2 separate regions of the Homo sapiens genome follow, and region 1 is linked to region 2. The links are contacts of gene promoters, found by promoter capture Hi-C in blood cells and fetal thymus (Javierre and others, 2016). All regions are on one chromosome and are shown on one strand. The core of a region is centred on a gene start or on the middle of the fragment in contact, and the rest is flanking DNA. Distances in the headings are between cores, read along the strand shown.

Region 1 (2,827 bases), core at 1-2,500, 1.0 Mb after region 2:
CCTTTTCTGAGTGGGGAGCTTAGAGATGCTCAGGAGGGACCTCCCCGATTCTGCGATTCTGAGCATCAATTTTGGCAGGAGGCTAGATAGAAGTAGCAATTGACATTCATCACCCTAAAGTGCGGATTATGTCAGTACAGATGCTACGATAGAAGAACTAAAAAATGACAGAAATGGTTTTACTGTTTTTAAACTCTGGGAGCCTACTCCTTTAAGAGATTAGGCAGTACGCCTATTCTCGCCTGGTCCCAGCGTACCTTGCGCGGCTCGCCGTCCCCCACTCACGTACCAGGGCTCATTGCGTGACGGTTACACTTCCGGCGGGCTACGTGCGCGCGGCGAGCGCCGGGCGTACTTTTGCGTGGTTGCTCCACCCCCTCAGCCTTGCCTTCGCCGCCGTTGGGGCTGGAAGTTCCCGCCAGGTCCGTGCCGGGCGAGAGAGATGCTGCCCGGCCCGCCTCGGCTTTGAGGCGAGAGAAGTGTCCCAGACCCATTTCGCCTTGCTGACGGCGTCGAGCCCTGGCCAGACATGTCCACAGGGTTCTCCTTCGGGTCCGGGACTCTGGGCTCCACCACCGTGGCCGCCGGCGGGACCAGCACAGGCGGCGTTTTCTCCTTCGGAACGGGAGCGTCTAGGTAACCGCACTTTCTCGCCTTCCTGGGCCGGATTCACCCCCACCCCCACCCCCGCAAAGCTCCCTTGGTGTCCCCATCCTGTCTCTTCCCTCTGGCTTCCTTCCCAGTGGGGCTGGAGAGAAGCACTTAATCTAGCCGCCCGGCGTCGTAGGCCTCTCGCCGCGGTACCCGGGCCCAGCGCGGCCTGGTGAAGTGGAGGGCGGGATGGGTTCTGTGCTGTGAGGTTTCCAGAATCCACGTATAGTTCAGGCATTATTTGGACCTAGTGGGGTCTTGACTGCGTGGAAGGGCCTTGGGGTCTACCCCGGAGCTTTAGCGATGTGTCAGTCTTAGGCATAGAATGAACATTGAATGAATGAATGAAATTATAGCATACTGTGGAGTTTTATGATAGATAATTCCGATTTCATTGCAGCATTTGCGGTTTTGGATATGACGGTGTTTTAATAACTTTGTGGTTTTTAACCAGCTTTTCAAGCTTTTGTGCCACATGGGACCTTATCTGTTTTTGTTAAAAAAAACAAAAACACTTTTTTACAGTGTTTATTAGTGGTAATTTTCTGCAGTATGTGCAGATTAGTATATCTGATGCGAGAATGTTGTGTTGTAATAACTCAATTTGTCTTTTACTTAAATTACAAAACGTAGGTAGCATGTTCCTTGTTTTTGTGCAACCCATTAGTTCAGGTGGCGACAAAAACATAACTATCCAGAAAGAAACAAAGTGGTGAGACATTTTAATGAGAGATTTAAGCTTTAGAACTCAATTTTTTTTAAGATAAAGGTGGAGGGGTTCATAAAGTTAAGGAGTGTGCACACTGTCAACAAGATACTTCCTGAAGCTTAAAAGATGTGGCTGTAGATTTAAAAGGCAAATACTTAAGCATGACCTGCAGTTTAAAAAGGGAGGGAGGAGGAACCACGGACTACACAGTCAATTCAGAAATTTGAATTTTCATCCATACCTCCGTTATTCTTACTCTACTCGCTCAACAACAGGTTCTGATAATGTTACTTCTGCCATTTCTGTTTGTCTTTATTTCCAGTTCCACAACCCTGCTTAGGCTATTGTCATTCGTGGAACAAATATTTATTGGACAGATTCCCATGTGCAAGGCTCTGTTTTAGGTATTAAGAGTCTTGCTCTCTTGATCCTTACATTCTTATGAAAATAATTTTGATTCTTGTCAGATTTTTAACCAGCTGTCTTTCTTGTTTTAGATGAAAACTACTCCAATCAACTTCTTCAATCTGTTCTGCCACATTTTAGCCAGAGTAATTGAAAAACAAAATTCCCATTGCTCTCTCTTTAATCATTACCCGCCATCGTTAGAATGAAGTTTAAAAAAGAAAAAAAAACTTACCATAGTCTGCAAGGTCCACTTCTGCTGGAACCTCTGGGGACTCATCTTGAGCGGGACTCATCTTGAGCCCATCTTTTTATTTTAGCTATGCAGACCCACTGTTAAAAACAAACACACAACTACCACCCTAAATAACTGAAATGAAGTTTCAGAGAAAGATACCCTTACTTCATGGGATGCACTTTGATATTTTCTATTTCTTTTTTTTTTTAATGTTGCTTATGACTTGATGAATTAATTTTTATATTTCTCTCATGGTCCTGATCTTAGAAAGCCTGTCCTAGCAACATGGCCTTTTCTCTTTTCAAGTGGGCTTTGCCAGCCCCTTCCTTGCAAATATCAAATGGTCTCTTCCCCAGAGAGGCCTTTTCTGACCTGTCAGTCTAGGGGAGATTTCCATTCTCCTAGTACTCTTAGAGTGCTGATCACAATTGTAATCAGTTTGTTATATTTATTGTTAACTTGTTTGTTGTCAGATCTCAGCACTAGAATAATTAATACCTATGTCTCTCACTGACTAGAAACTGCCTGAGGGCAAGGTCTGAGTCTTAATTTCCCACCTCATTGTCAGTCCCAAGGACAGTGCCTGGCATAGAAAAAGGGCTTTAATAACAATTTGAATGACTGAGCAAATGAGTTATTAGTAATAAGCTATAAAAAATTACCCAAGTTTTAGAGAGGCTTGGATAAATTAATGAAAGAGGAGACTGTCCGACATAAATTTGTTAGAGTGCTGGTTGGGAGGCCTGACAGCCCCTAGTGCCACCTAGTGATTTGATGTCTTGAGGTTGGTCATTTTAGGGGAGTTCTCACATCTGGAAAAGGAG
Region 2 (2,700 bases), core at 106-2,605:
GGTTCAGGTCCCAGGATGGAAGATTCAGCTGTCCGAGCTTAGGTGATATGTCCACCACCTGGTGGTACTGGAACAGGAAGAAGGGTGGGGTGTCTGTCTCCAGGGACCCTTGCCTTCTATATGTGAAGACAGGCCAAGTAAGTATTTAACAGAGCAGACAGTACTATAAAGAAAAATAAAACAGGATAGAGAGCATTCATTTCCAAAGAGTGTTATTCTAATGACACTCTAATGAACAGGATGCACCTGTTCCATGAACCCTCTCTCTCTTCCCTAGAAGGAGACACCCAGATCCTCATCAGTGGCAGCAGACACCTCCAAGTCTAGGACCTCTTAGGATAACTAGTCCTCCAGTTCCATGCAGTGCCTCTTCAGCGTTGATTAACTAGAGGCAGATTTAAGCAACACATCCCTACCAGAATGGCAAGGCAGGGAAAGGAAGGAAATAGAGAATTTGGGATGCTGTGGAGAATAAAACGTCATGCAAAGTTTACATTTCAGCATTTGAACAGATTCCATAAGTCAATATGTAGGATGCACCAAGGCACCAGTGACGGCCCTGCAGAAGATGACTTTGGGTAATGTGAGGAGTAGGAGCAGGTGGGGGAGATAGCCTCCTCTCCAAGGAGGTGACGCTGGGGACAGGTGAGTAGGAGGCAGTGAGGCAGAGATCCGAGGGAGGAGAAGTCCTAGCCGAAGGAGCACCAGAAGCCCAAAGACAGGCAGGAAACATGATGTGTCTGAGGTTCAGCAAGGAGGCCACAGTGACAGGAGCTCAGGGAGCAAGAGGCAGACGAGGATGTTGCAGGCTGGGAGGTGGGCTGAGGCTGGAAAGGGCTCTGCAGGTCATGAGGAGGCTGAGCTTGTTCTAAGTGTGGTGTGAAGCCATTGGCAGCAGGAGCATATTATGTTCCGGTTTATGCTTAGAGAGGGAGGGCAGTTTGTGGGGGGAAAGGAAGAGGAATGGAGATTGATTTGAAGGCGATTGCATTAGTCCATTTGAGAAATATGGTAGCAGTGACCACAAAAGCCATCCCCATTTTCCGTGGGTGCTCATTTTCCCAGTGGTACGAAGAGGCAAAAATGGCCAGCCTTGGTTCTGATTCACTGTGGCCAGGACTGTGAACTCTGGAGGAAGTACTTCTCCCTTGGGCACTAAATTCAGTTTCAACAGAGCAGAGTTCCTAGGTGGGAAGAAAACATTTTGCAAGTATATTATTAAGTAATCCTAAGAAGCCGCTTCTATGTTTACCCTTGGTTTCCGGCCCTGCATCTTCTGCTGTGGGCCAGCCTCTCCAAATTAGTCACTGCTTCAGAGCTTGCGTCCCATCCAGGGCAGTATGGCAACTTCTGGGTGTGTCTCCCAGCTGCCTCTGTAACTTCATTTTTATTTGGTTGTTATTGGGTGTGATGGGGTCATGTGCTTCCTTCTCTGTGACGTTCTGGGCCTGGATGGCGTGTGAGATGCTGCGACAGGATAGGGGCCTTCTAGAGGATCCACAGAGTGCAGGAAAACAAATCCAAGCCCAGCATAAGTGGCCCTTCCAGTAGGGACAAATCACCACCCCCTCTATTATGAAAAGGCCCCACTGCAATCAGCTTTCCGCAAGGGGCTGTCTGGTTCCTGCGGGGAACCGTATCATCAGCTTTGTTGAGGGGAAGGCCCAGACTTCCTGTGGTTTAGCCCAGGCTTGGCATCCATTTTTGCCACCATGGCCTTTTTCTTGCTTGCTTCTTTTTTTTTTTCCTTTTTATGAACCCACTGAGCAAGTATCAAGATGACTAGGAAGGAAGACTGGCATCTAGCTGCACATTGGGACAGCATGTCCACATGATGATTGATTAGCCTCTCTTGCAATAAGGATTCATGTAGGATGGACATCATCTCATGCTCTGCGGGTATTCTGAGGTAGCCAGTTATACTCCTTCCCCAAACCCATCCTCAGCCCATCTTGTTCTTTCCACATTCCTCCAGGCCATTCAGCCAGGCCATTAGCTCCTAACCAGGAGTGCGCACGAGCTAAATCCTTGCCTTGCCAAAGCCATCTCTCCTACTCAGAAAGGCTTGGGAAGAGTATTGCTTACATTTGCCGCCGGGAGTTTCCCTGTCCTGAGGACACAGTCACCAGGCTGATGGTAGGAGTTCTCTTTGAGAAGCTAGGAAGAAGACTTGTAGTAGGATGCCTACCCTGAGGCTCCCTGGCTCTGCTCCATCAAGAGGCCTGAGTCTGGGAGTTGAGTGAGGGCCCTCCCTTGTCTTCTCTGTCATGGTGGCTCAGGTCGGGCTCTGCTTGCCAGCCCTGGAGAGTTCCTCCTACACAATGTTGTGGTACCTTTGTGGAATCACTCATCTGTTTTGTTCCTGGGGACCCCGAGATCAGTTAACAGCACAACCAGAGATTTCACAGGTCAAACCATTCAGATGACCAAGCTGGCCCTGCTGTGTGGTATAGTAACTATGCCCACCTTTTTCCCATGACAGATGTCCCACCCCCATGGAGGACCAGGTTTGCATTGCAGTGGAACCATCTCTCAGCAGCATCTCTGGCCTAGAGAGATTAGCAGTACATTAATTATAAAAGCTGCTGTCACATGGGAGATGCAGCCCAAGGGGTGGTGAGACTCACATGATAGACCATCTCTAGCATTTCCATCCCAGTCCTGGAACTCCTTCCTTTCTATGCACTGAGGGTTTTAGGT

The links. The method cuts DNA at HindIII sites, captures the fragments that hold promoters and counts their contacts. A CHiCAGO score of 5 or more calls a contact.
Region 1: a fragment that was not itself captured here is called in contact with the fragment with the promoter of SPATA13-AS1 in region 2 in 2 of 17 cell types (total CD8 T cells and naive CD8 T cells); the score reaches 9.9 in total CD8 T cells.

The regions. Positions count from the first base shown.
Region 1 is chr13:25,301,245-25,304,071 of GRCh38, forward strand. NUP58 (nucleoporin 58) reads left to right here and starts at 381. Exons shown (of 16, transcript NM_014089.4): 1 at 381-636. The coding sequence starts at 530. RefSeq lists enhancers at 37-276, 437-516, 627-676. The HindIII fragment of the contact is 276 bases long and covers 1,113-1,388 here.
Region 2 is chr13:24,253,084-24,255,783 of GRCh38, forward strand. It overlaps SPATA13-AS1 (SPATA13 antisense RNA 1), which reads right to left and starts at 1,356. Exons shown (of 3, transcript NR_046531.1): 1 at 1,253-1,356; 2 at 1-116. The region is part of intron 4 of SPATA13 (spermatogenesis associated 13); the gene reads left to right. The HindIII fragment of the contact is 5,552 bases long and covers 1-2,700 here.